Regions from separate parts of the Homo sapiens genome. Here regions 1 and 2 are each linked to region 3. Evidence: promoter capture Hi-C in human tissues and cell types (Jung and others, 2019). All regions are on one chromosome and are shown on one strand. The core of a region is centred on a gene start or on the middle of the fragment in contact, and the rest is flanking DNA. Distances in the headings are between cores, read along the strand shown.

Region 1 (4,048 bases), core at 179-2,678, 110 kb before region 3:
CATCCTCATCATTATTTGTTATTGCCTGACTTTTGGATGAAAGCCATTTTAGCTGGGGTGAGATGATATCTCATGATAGTTTTGATTTGCATTTATCTGATGGTCAATGATTTGAACACATTTTCATATGCCTGTTTGCCATTTGTATGTCTTCTTTTGAGAAATATGTATTCAAATCTTTTGCCCATTTTTAATTGGATTATTAGATTTCTTTCCTATAGAGTTGTTTGAATTACTTATCTATTCTGGTTTTTAATGCCTTCTTGAATGGGTAGTTTGCAAATATTTTCTCCCATTCTGTGGGCTCTCTCTTCACTTTGTTGATTGTTTCCTTTGCTATGCAGAAGCTTTTTAACTTGATGTGATCCTGTTTGTTCATTTTGCTTTCGTTGCCTGTGCTCATGGGGTATTGCTCAATAATTTTTTTTGCCCAGACAAATGTCATGGAGAGTTTCCCCAGTGGTTTCTTGTAGTAGTTTGCAGTAGTTTCATAGTTTGAGGTCTTAGATTTAAATCTTTAATCTATTTTGATTTTATTTTTGTATGTGATTTGAGATAGGGGTCTAGTTTCATTTTTATCCATTGAGCCACTCTGTGCCTTCTGATTGTAGAGTTTAGTCCATTTACATTTGACGTAAATGTTATATTTTTAAGTAAGGACTTACTCCTGCCATTTTGTTACTTGTTTTCTGTTTGTTTTGTGGTCTTCTCTTCCTTCTTTCTTTCCTTTCTGTCTTCCTTTCAGTGGAGGTGATTTTTTCAGTTTCCTGCTTTTTATTTTTTGTGGAACTGTTATATGTTTTTGAGTTTGAAGTTACCATGAGGCTTAAAAATAGTATCTTATATCCCATTATTTTAAGCTGATAACAACTTAACACAGTTTGCATAAAGAAACAAAGACAGCAAACAGAAAGCTAATACAAACTCTATACCTTAACTTCATTCTCCCACTCTAAAACTTTTTGTTGTTTCTATTTATGTCTTATTGTACTTTATATGTCTTGAAAAGTTATTGTAGTTATTATTTCTGATTGGCTCATCATTTAGTTTTTCTACTTAAGACAAGAGTAGTTTACACGTCATAGTTACAGTGTTATAACATTCTGTGGTTTTCTGTGTACTTACTACTGCCAGTGAGTTTTGTACCTTCAGATGATTAAATTGCTCATTAATATCCTTTTCTTTCTAATTGAAGTACTCCCTTTAGCATTTCTTCTAGGACAGGTCTCGTGTTAATTAAATCCCTCACCTTTTGTTTGTCTGGAAAAGTCTGTGTTTCTCCTTCAAGTTTGAAGGATATTTTCACCAGATATACTATTCTAGAGTAAAAACTTTTTTTTTTGTCTTTCAGCACTTCAAATATGTCATGCCACTCTCATCTGGCCTGTAAGGTTTCCACTGAAAAGTCTGCTGCCAGATGTACTGAAACTCCCTTGTATGCTATTTGTTTCTTTTCTCTTGCTGCTTTTAGGATCCTTTCTTTATCTTGGACCTTTGGGAGTTTGATTATCAAATGCTTTGGGGCAGCATTCTTGGGTTAAATCTGCTTGGTGTTCTATAACCTTCTTGTACTTGGGATATTGATATCTTTCTCTAGGTTTGCAAAGTTCTCTGTTATTATTGCTTTGAATAAACTTTCTACCTGTATCTCTTTTTCTACCTCCTCTTTGACACCAATAACTCTTGGATTTGCCCTTTTAAGGCAATTTTCTAGATCCTGCCAGTGTGCTTCATTGTTTTTTATTCTTTTTTCTTTTGTCTCCTCTGACTGTGTATTTTCAAATAGCCTGTCTTCAAGCTCACAAATTCTTTCTTCTGCTTGATCAGTTCTGCTATAAAAAGACTCTGATGCATTCTTCAGTGTGTTATTTGTACTTTTCAGCTCCAGAATTTCTACTTGATTCTTTTTAATTATTTCCATCTCTTTGTTAAATTCATCTGATAGAATTCTTGAATTTCTTTCAGTTTCCTCAACATGGCTATTTTGAATTCTCTGTCTCACATATCTCTGTTTCTTCAGGATTGATCTCTGATGTCTTATTTAATTCATTTGGTGAGGTCATGTATTCCTGGATGGTCTTGATACTTGTAGATATTTTTCTGCATCTAGGCATTGTATTTATTGTAGTCTTTACAACCTGGGCCTGTTTGTACTTGTCCTTGGAAAGGCTTTCCAGATATTTTGAAGGACTCGGATGTTGTGATCTACGTTGTATCTGCTGTAGGGGGCCCTGCAAGCCTAGTAATGCTGTGGGTCTTGTACACACTCATGGAGGTACCACCTTGATGGTCTTGGACAAGATCTAGAAGGATTCTCTGGATTACCAGGCAGAGATTCTTTTTCTAGTCCCTTTACTTTCTCCCAGAGTCTCTCTCTTTCTGTTCTGACCCACATAAAGCTGGTGACACACTCCACCGCAACTAGGACTTTGCTGGGTAAGACTTGAAGCCAGTACAGCACTTGCCCAGGGCCTGCAGTAACCACTTCCTAGCTGCCATCTATATTTGCTCAAGGCTCTGGGGCTCTACAATCAGTAGGTGAGAAAGCCAGCCAGACCCGTGTTCTTCTCTTCAGGTTGGCAAGTTTCCCAAGGCCCTGGGTTGGTCCAGAGGTGCCATCCAGAAGCCAGGGACTAGAGTAAAAAACCTTAGAAGTCTACCTAGTATTGCATTGTACTGTGACTAAGCTGGCATTCAAACCACAAGACACAGTCCTTCCCATGCTGTCTTCCCCTTTTCTAAGGCAAAGGAGCCTCACCTCATGGCCACCACCACCACAGGCCCACAGGGAGTACTGCCAGTGTACTGTTAATATTCCAAGGCCCAAGGACTCTTCAGTCAGCTTGTGGTTAATGCTGCCTGGCCTGGGACTCACCCTTCAAAGCAGTGGGCTCCCCTCTGGCCCAGGGCAGGCCCAGAAATGCTATCCAAGAGCCACATCCTGGAATCAGGGACCCCAAGCCCAGTTGGTGCTCTACCTCTCTGTGGCTGTACCTGAAGCCAGCAAGTCACAGAGTCTCACCCAAGGCCCATGACATACTAATTGGGTATCACTTCTGGTTTTTCAGGGCCCAAGGGCTCTTCAGTTAGTAGGTGATGAATTCTCTCCAGATGTCGTTGTGAAGATAAAAGAGGTTTATTTTCATGAAAACATATATACTTTAAAGCACCTTATGAAATGTATGTCCATTCCACCATCAACATTTTTACCTCTGTTGGGAAGATAATTCCTTTTGACTCCACAATAATTATTTATATCTACACATGGGAATGTTTCTTTTTTATTTGTGTGGTTTTGGTTTTAAAGCATTTAATCATTACAAGACTCCTAGAATTACTATATCATGTGCTCTCTGAAGGCAAAGTTCCCATCTAATTTTTCTATTTTATCTTTCTACCTCTAAGACCTAAAACTCAATAAATGTGCATTAAGGCAGATATCCTTGGGAGAAGTGACACAGAAACTATGTATTCATGCTCTGTGTCCATTGTACTTCACTCAGGGTTAAGACTGCCTTGATGAGGGCAAGTGTAGGAAGACTCTGAGGCCATCTGAGAGTAAGTGGTGAAGACTTAAGAAGTGGGGCAGGAAACACAGCAAGAGAGAGTTGTCAGGAAGCAGAAAAGCAGTTGGCAAAAGCAACCACTGAAGGACTGGTTTTACCTCTAATTCTTCCTGGACTGGGGATAATCCTAGAGGGCTTGTCTCTGTCAGATGAACTTTTGGTAGCATTTCCCAGAACCATGACTCAAAACTTGCCACTGTGTTCCCATCTGGGATTTGGAAGATAAGGTAAGAACTTGGAAAGAATTCAGGGGACACTTAGTTAAATTGGGTCAAAATGTGTCCATTCTCCAGCCTCCGTCTTGGCAGTGACACATTGGAAAATGGTTCCACTATGACTGAACAGCCAGGGAAGAGTACAGCTTATTTATACTCTCTGTTTTCCACTTTATTTTCTACAAACTATGTCTTTTAGAAATAAACTATCAATCTTGCCCAGACTGGAGAAAGGACTGCAGCAACAACCCTGTTTCAGTATTCTGG
Region 2 (4,156 bases), core at 343-2,842, 80 kb before region 3:
GTGATGTTCCCCACCCTGTGTCCATGTGTTCTCATTGTTCGATTCCCACCTATAAGTGAGAACATGTGGTTTTTGGTTTTCTGTCCTTGTGATAGTTTGCTCAGAATGATGGTTTCCAGCTTCATCCATGTCCCTACAAAGGACATGAACTCGTCCTTTTTTATGGCTGCACAGTATTCCATGGTGTATATGTGCCACATTTTCTTGATCCAGTCTATCATCAATGGACTAAATTTTCACTTTTATCTCCTTTACTTTGCTGAAAAACAATGAAATTTCAGCAGCAGCCTTGGACTTAGAAAATGGAAGCCATAAGCAGAGGGTACCAAACTCTAGAAAAAGATACTTCTCTCTTCCTCTCTTCCTCTGATCTAGTTTCACCCAGAATCTCATTTCCATGATGGCTAGACCTGGTCTTTTTCTTCATTGCTTTATCCTCAATCCCAGACACAGAGCAGAAACTCAGTCAGTATTTGCTCTCAGGGCTTTTGTCTCCATAATGCCTTCTTTAATCCTCACCGCTGTAGCTCAGTTTCTTTGTCCAGACTTGGCTTTGCTGGCCACTTTAGCCTCACTATTAAATAATTGACCTACTGATTATTTGATCACCAGTATTAGCTGATCCTTTTCTAGGTGCAAGGTGCTGGTGACAGAGTATTGACAGAAACAGGCATGGGCTACTGCCGTGGAGCAGATGGCCCACTCCCTGTGTATTCAAGGGGGAATCTCTACTTCAGCCTGAACTTGGTAAAAGTCATTTCCCCCATACCCCTTTCCAGCTGCCCACTGTGTTGTCTGGAAAACTCTGGTCTTTTAGGAGGACTGAGAATGAGATGGTTAGGACTGTCAATGACACAAACATGCCCCATGAGCACAAAGTACAATTTGGGGTGATGTGAGAGGGATGATGAAAGCTTCCCCAAACAGGGGAGATTGAGAGTTTTCCTTTAAAATGTTTTTATTTTTAACCAAGTTACCATTTCTTTGATGTAAGCAATACAGATAATAAAAAATAAAGACAAAATCATTGAAATATATCAGTGCTATACTTTCTACTCATTGATAATCTTACCACCCAGGTTACCAGTGGTTACCACTGATAACATCTTATGTATATATTGTACACTTTTCATATAAATCATATTTTTCATAGAAAAACAATCCTAAAATTCATATGGAACAAAAAAAGAGAACTAAATAGCCAAAGCAATCCTGAGCAAAAAGAACAAAGCTGGAGGCATCACACTACTTCACTTCAAAATATATTACAAGGCTTATAGTAACCAAAACAACATGGTGGTATGGCTCACGCCTGTAATCCCATCACTTTGGGAGGCCGAGGTAGGTGGATCATGAGGTGAAGATATCAAGACCATCCTTGCCAACATGGTGAAACCCCATCTCTACTAAACATACAAAAATTAGCTGGGTGTGGCAGTGCAGGCCTGTAGTCCCAGCTACTTGGGAGGCTGAGGCAGGAGAATCACTCAAACCTGAGAGGCAGAGGTTGCAGTGAGCCGAGACGGCACCACTGCACTCCAGCCTGGTGACAGAGCAAGACTCTCTCTCAAAAACAAAAACAGAAACAAAAAACCAACACATAGACCAATAGAACAGAATAGATAACCCAGAAAGTAATACACATATTTATAGCCAACTGATTTTCACCAAAAGCTCCAAGAACATACATTGGAGAAAGGACACCCTCTTCCATAAATGGTGCTGGGAAAATTGGACATTCATATGCAGAAAAATAAAACTGTACTTCCATCTCTCATCATATACAAAAAATCCACTCAAGATGCATTAATACTTAAACACAAAACCCTAAGCTATAAAACTACTTGAAGAAAACATAGGGAAAACACTTCAAGACATTGATCTAGGCAAAGATTTTATGGCTAAGACCTCAAAAGCATAGGCAACAAAAGCAAAAATGGACAAACGGGACTATATTAGAATACAAAGCTTCAGCACAGAAAATAATCAACAGAGTAAAGAGACAACCTGTCAAATGGGAGAAAATACTTGTGAACTATTCATCTGACAAGGGACTAATATTCAGAATATACGAGGCACTCACAACTCAACAGTAAACAAACAAACCAACCCACAATTAATCCCATTTAAAAGTGGGTAAAGGACAGGAAGAGACATTTCTCAAAAAAATACATACAAATGGCCAACAGGTATTTGAAAACATGTTCATCACTAATTATCAAAATGCAAATCAAAACCACAATGAGGTATTATCTTACCTCAGAATGGGTATTATTAAAAAGACAAACATTAACAGATGCTGATGAGGATGTGGAGAAGAGGAAACTCTTATACACTGTTGGTGGGAATGTAAATTAGTACAGTCACTATAGAAAACAGTATGGAGAGTTTTCAAAAAGCTAAAAATGGAACTATCATATGACCCGGCAATCCCACAACTGCATATTTATCCAAAGGAAAATAAATCAGTATATCAAAAGACACTTGCACCCCTATGTTTATTGTAGTGCTGTTCACAATAGCAAAGATATGAATTAACAAATTATCCATTAATAAATGGATGAAGAAAATGTGGTGTATATACACAATGGAGTACTATTTGGTCATGGAAAAGAAAGAAATCATGTCACTTTCAGAACATGAATGAAACTGGAGGTCATCATGCTAAGTGAGATAAGCCAGACATAGAAAGACAAATATTGTATATTCTCCCTCATATATGGGAGCTTAAAAAGTTGATGTCATGGAGGTGGAGAGTAGAATGAGACCAAAGGCTAAGGGTGTGTGTGTGTGTGTGTGTGTGTGTGTGTGTGTGTGTGTGTGTGGTGGAGGGGATGAAGAGAGGTTGCTGAATGGGTACAAACATACAGTTACATAGAAGGAATCAGTTCTAATATTTCATAACAGAGTAGGGTAGCTATAAGTAACAACAACGTATTGTATCTTTCAAAATAACTAGAAGAGAGAACTTGAAATGTTCCCAACACATATAAATGATAAATACTCGAGGCAATGGATACCCTAAGAACTCTGACTTGATAATTATACATTCAATGCACATAACAAAATATCACATGTATCTCATAAATGTGTACAAATATTATGTATCAATAAATTTAAAAATTACATTTTTATATCAACCACATATGCACAAGCTAAGAAACATTTTTAAAAAGATTTTAGAATTTCTGACATCAGGCTGTATCTTAGAATCAATGTATTTACAAAACAACATATGACAGTTTAAGTGGAAGCATCCTTTTTCTTAGTAATGAATAATTAATAGTCTATCTTATACTTGATGACATCTTAGATCTAATGAAATAGGTATATGTTTAGAGAAATGAGATCATATGTTTAGAGAAATGCTATCTCACCCTACAGTGACTAGCTTTTTTCAAACTAATATGTTGTGAATATCTTTCTAAGTCAATAAATAGAGCTCTGCGTTGTTATTTTTCATTGGCAAAGAATATTGTTGTACCATAATTTATTCATCCCCTAATTTGGTACAAGTATTTTATTTTCATTTTTTATAAAAACCATGGTTGGGATGGCTGTGCACGTGTGGGTGCAGGGATTATATGAAGACTGTACTTTCTACTCAGTTTTTTGTGAATCTAAAACTACTCGAAAAAATAAATTTATTAAAAAGAAAAACAAGCCATTATAAACAATGCAAGTCCAACAAGTCACAAGTCACATGGCCAACCTCATATTCAAGAGGTAGAGAAATAAACTTTACCTTGTGATTGGGAAACTACCAATTAACATTGCAAAGGAATGTGTATACATAAGAACAGATGTGATATGGTTTGCTGTGTCCCCACCCAAAACTCATCTTGAATTGTAGTTCCCATAATCCCCACATGTGGTAGGAGGAACCTGATGGAAGGTAATTGAATCATGGGGGTGGTTACCCTTATGCTCTTCTCATGAAAGTGAGTTCTCACAAGATCTGATGGTTTTATAAGGGGCTTTTCCCTCTTTGCTCGGCACTTCTCCTTTTTGATGCCCTGTGAAGAAGGATGTGTTTGCTTCTCCTTCTGCCATGATTGTAAGTTTCCTTAAGCCTCCACAGCTATGCGGAACTGTGAGTCAATTAAACCTCTTTCCTTTATAAATCTCCCAGTCTCGGGTAAGTCTTTCTCAGCAG
Region 3 (4,611 bases), core at 209-2,708:
CTGGGGTTTGGGTGGGGTGGGTGGGGTTGTGGGGGTGGGGGAGCTTTTTGTGGGGAAGTAAGAGTTTAAGGAAAGGTGTGAGGTGGGGTGGTTGTCTGATTTGCCTGGGCAAAGTGAATCAGGGTGGAGAGAGGTGAATTTCAACCAGATAGTTCACACTACAAGATCGAAGACAAGGATCATGAGAAATCATTGAATCAATAGGATGAACACCAACGTCACACTGAACTGCATGAATCTGATCATGTGTACAATAAAAACCCATGCTTAACAGAAGAAGAGAAGTCAGTTTCTATATGACACCTCCTGTGTGCTAAGTACTGGTCTAGGGTTTGATTCCCACCTTGTGAAATCCACACAAGAGCTCTTCCAGGTAGCTATTAATATGTCATCCCAGGTGACAGCTCTGACTCTTAAGGCTCAGACAGGTAAGTAAATTGCTCAGGATCTCATAGTGGGCAAGTTCAAAGCTGGTATGGGTAGCCAGATCAATCTCCTTATTCCTTTCTGTCACCCCTGGTTGATCACTTTTTGCTTTTCACATTTACTCTGCCCTTTAAAAACATTGCCAAAGAATAAGAAAAACAACTATGAACAATGACAATTTAGTTTCATATAACACATAATGATAAGATGATTTGTATTATTTGTGCTCCATTTAAAACAAAACACAGAATTTTTTATAAAAAGAGGCAGACCCAGGAAATGGTCCTGATCTGATTTCTACCCTAGAAGTTGGCCATCTTCTAGGGTTAAGAAGGAGAAAGACAATCACAAAAGGGCAGAGAACAGCAATAAATGGTGAAGAGGAGACTGGATATGCCAGAAAAACACCCAGTCATTTCTCACGGCCCTGGGGCTCAGCCCCCACCTGCCCATGATGGAATGCAGGCCCAAGGAACTCCAGGCCCTTGGTGGAGTGAGAAGTGGCAGCAGGTAATAAAGCTGTTAAAGGAGCGAGGCTCTTACCTTGTTCTGAGCACACGGATCCAGTGCAATCCCAGGCAGTGCGAGTGAATTGCAGGCTGCAGCTGTGTCAGGTAGAGTGCAAGGGGGGTAGACTATTCAACAGGAGCCAGGCTGACTGGGTTTTTATAACACTCACTGGGTTTTTACAACACTGTGGCACGTTACTCACAGCTCCTCCCAGCCACGCCCCTCCGAGGGAGCCGGTTCCTGCAGGGAAAGTGCTGGATGTAATCCAGTGAAAAGGGGGGTTACCTGCATGCCATCAAACGCTTCCTCTAGGCCCTTCCCTGTCCACCCTGTGGCCAGGATAGGAGGACAACTCAGCCTCACAGTGACCCTCCTTGATGGGGAGAGGACCCCAGCAGTGATGTCTATGGAGGAGTAAAATAACTATAATGACATGATCCGAGCTGCCAAACTACTGAGCCCATTTTACCTGAGTTCTCCTTTTCCCTCATCACATCCGCTCTAGTAGGGAGTGCAATGATTCCTCCCCTTTTACAAAAGCAGGAATTGGTTCTGGAGATATGTAAGAGCTTGTCCAAGTTCACAGAGGCAGGAAAAGGAACATCTCAAAATTAAAAGTGAGATTCTCTACATCCATGGTCTGATCTCTTCCTGCCTGCCACTCTCAATAAATCTTTGTTGAATGGGTGACTGAAGTTGCCGAAGTTTTCGTAGTGTCTGAGTTCCTTTTTCCATCTGAAGTTACTACATAAGCAGAGGATACCCTAATTCTAGAGGCAGGGAAATTTACATTAAAAATTCCCTCTTTTTTATCAGGGAATTCTACCAGGCTCTGAGAGGCTGGTAAAGAGGGAATTTTTAATATAAGATTACTGTTGTAAATACTTACCTTCAGGTCTCATTCAGAGAGCTCAGGCTGCCCTGCCTGCTACAGGCACAGTCCCACACCAGAATGACCCAGGTGGAATCCTGGCCACAGCATGTGTTTAGCTGAGTGCTATGCCCAAACCACTTAGCCTCTCCCATCATCCATTTGCAGTGTGCTGACAATAACAACGTCTCCTTTATAGCTGCATACTAAATTTTTACTGGGCTAAGCTGTTAACATAAAGTGGAGCAGAATCGTTTTGCCTCATGACAGGGTCTTAAGTTGTATACTTTGAAAACAGACATTTGTTATTTACATATGCAGCATTTAAAAAGAAACTCACTTCTACAGGGAAGATGTGGCCCTCATTATATATTATCACCTCACCTTTCATAGATTTTCAGAAGAAGAAATTGTTCACTTTTCCTTAATTCAGCCATAAGAAAACTATTGTTTAGTGTGATATTAAATGGCAACTGACTTTTGGGTTTGAGATAAGGCAATAGGGAGTGATGGGGACTGTGGCAAACTAGAGAGTCTCTGCCTCCATAGAGGTCAACACTCATCTCCAATTGACTGAGAAAATGCAGGGATTAGGCTCAGTATTGTCACACTGTCTGATTTTTAAAATGACATCCCCAAATCCAGATGTGTTTATATGAAATTGGTTGGCAGCTAATTAAAATTTTCTAAAAATAAAGCTGTAGCTCAACACTATGCAGGCCAAAACTTGTAACTGTGTTTGGATTTTATGAACGATCCACCTGTTTGAGAATTCCGTGGTCATAGCTATAGATGTTGACCAATTTACTCAGAGGCTCAGTCTCTGCATGAATCTGTTGGAAGAAGCCATTTCTGAAGCTGTGTGCCTCTCTCCTAAAATTGCCTCACCCAGGGGTCCGTCCTCACTATCCTCACAAACACCCCGCTGAGGCCCTGACCTCCACGAACAGGCTCTCTCATGCGGTATTTTGGAGGATTATTTGGACATAGGCAAGGCAAAGCTGCTTTGCTCAACAAGGGGAGTCTCCTACAAAATGGAAAATTCTACTTGATCCTTGGGAGGCAGGCAGATTCTTTCTGGAGGCAGATTGCAGTTGGAACACAAAACATATTTACAAGGAAACATGTGGACTCCGGGGTCTTTCTGGGAAGTGCTTCTCTGAGCTTTGCCAGGTAACACTGCACATTCCCCACTGGCTCCTTGTGGCCCTTCCCCTTCCTGTGACTCCCATCCCAGCGTCTGCTTTGCTCTTTCCCTTCTAGACTCAGCAGCACAGCATCAGAGCAGGCTGTGGGGCAGTCACCTCCTTGGCTCATCCTGCCCTTCCAACCTCATTTCCAGGTACTCACACGCAGACACATAAATACACATACACACTGACACACATACAAAGACACACACAAACACACACTGACACACTCAAACACACACAAACACACTCAAAGACACCACACTCATAGACACACAGAGACACACACATACTGACACCTAGACACATTCACACACATACTCATAGGCACACACACACAGAATCACACACAGTGACACTGACACACACACAGAGACAGACACACACACACATGCACACACACACTGCAATCTGGCCACACTGAAACCCTGTCCCACCATTTGCAGATACTCCATGCATGCGCCCACTTCCTGCCTTTGCCTCTGCTGTTCCCTGCACTTGGGATCCCCTTCCCTTCCTTCTCTGCCTGGCACACACCGCCTCATCCTTCAAGGCCAGGCTCCAATGCGAGCCCCTCTCTGTTGGTGTCATTGGCTCCTGACGCCCTGCATGCCACCCACATCTTTAAGAATGTCCACGGGGAGAAATGGCACACTTCCTCCAATGAGCTTACAGCGTGCCAGGCACTGTGCTAAGGCTGTTTCCCAAGCTTTCTTCGTATCTCCATGAACTAAGGAAACGATGTCCTTTTCCAGTGGCTCTGGGGAGACTGCAGAGGACATGGAGCCCCAGCCACGCAGTGCATAGCAGGTTCCAGTAACTTCAGGCCCCTCCACCTCCCCATGCTCCCAGCACTGAGGGGCTCTGTAATTCTTGGGGATGAGTACATAAAGGCCCATTGCACAAGAACCCCAGGAGGAAAGTCGGCCCAGGTCCTCATGGGACAGATGTGGAGGCAAGGCTTAGGGGGACTAAGCACAGTGTCTGACACACAATTAGAGAAGAATTATCTGGAGGCCGCTGCTATCATTCTAAACACAAATGAGGCAGTGTACGCATACACTGATAAATTGTGGAATTCTCCTCTCTTTGCCCCTTCATACCTTCCCTTTAAATTTTTTTTTAAAGTTTTAGAATAATTTTAGGTTTACAGAGAATTGCAAAGATAGTTATCATTCCAATTCTCACCTGGGTTCCCTATTTACCTGTTACATTACTATGGTACGTTTGTCACAACTGACAAACATTGATACATTATTGTCAATTGAAGTCCATACTTTATTCAGACTTGCTTAGGATTTACCTGTTGTTCTAGTTTTTATTATTATTATTATTATTATTGACAGACTTTATTTTTTAGAGTAGTTTTATGCTCATAGCACAATTGAGTGGAAAGTATCAAAAGTCCCATATACCCCTCCCCACACGCAGGCACAGTCTCCCCTACCTTCAACATCATGAACCAGGGTAGTACATTTGCTGTAAGTAATAAACCTACATTAACATGTCATTATCACCCAATGTCCATCATTTCCATTAGGTTCACTCTAAGTGCTGTACATTCTTTGGGTTTTGAGAAATGTATAATGACATGCATAATATCAATTAACTAAG

The links. Contacts are between HindIII fragments. The study calls those that stand out against the background at their distance.
Region 1: a contact is called between a fragment that was not itself captured here and the fragment with the promoter of FGFBP1 in region 3, in 5 of the 25 tissues and cell types used here (aorta, dorsolateral prefrontal cortex, neural progenitor cells and 2 more).
Region 2: a fragment that was not itself captured here is called in contact with the fragment with the promoter of FGFBP1 in region 3 in 2 of the 25 tissues and cell types used here (dorsolateral prefrontal cortex and spleen).

The regions. Positions count from the first base shown.
Region 1 is chr4:15,830,237-15,834,284 of GRCh38, forward strand. It overlaps CD38 (CD38 molecule), which reads left to right. Exons shown (of 8, transcript NM_001775.4): 4 at 3,981-4,048. Among named protein-coding and RNA genes, the nearest start is that of CD38, 54 kb to the left of the region's middle. The HindIII fragment of the contact is 8,209 bases long and covers 1-4,048 here.
Region 2 is chr4:15,857,412-15,861,567 of GRCh38, forward strand. No RefSeq gene overlaps it. Among named protein-coding and RNA genes, the nearest start is that of FGFBP1, 79 kb to the right of the region's middle. The HindIII fragment of the contact is 4,017 bases long and covers 1-3,601 here.
Region 3 is chr4:15,937,282-15,941,892 of GRCh38, forward strand. FGFBP1 (fibroblast growth factor binding protein 1) reads right to left here and starts at 1,459. Exons shown (of 3, transcript NM_005130.5): 1 at 1,406-1,459; 2 at 970-1,190. The HindIII fragment of the contact is 13,154 bases long and covers 1-4,611 here.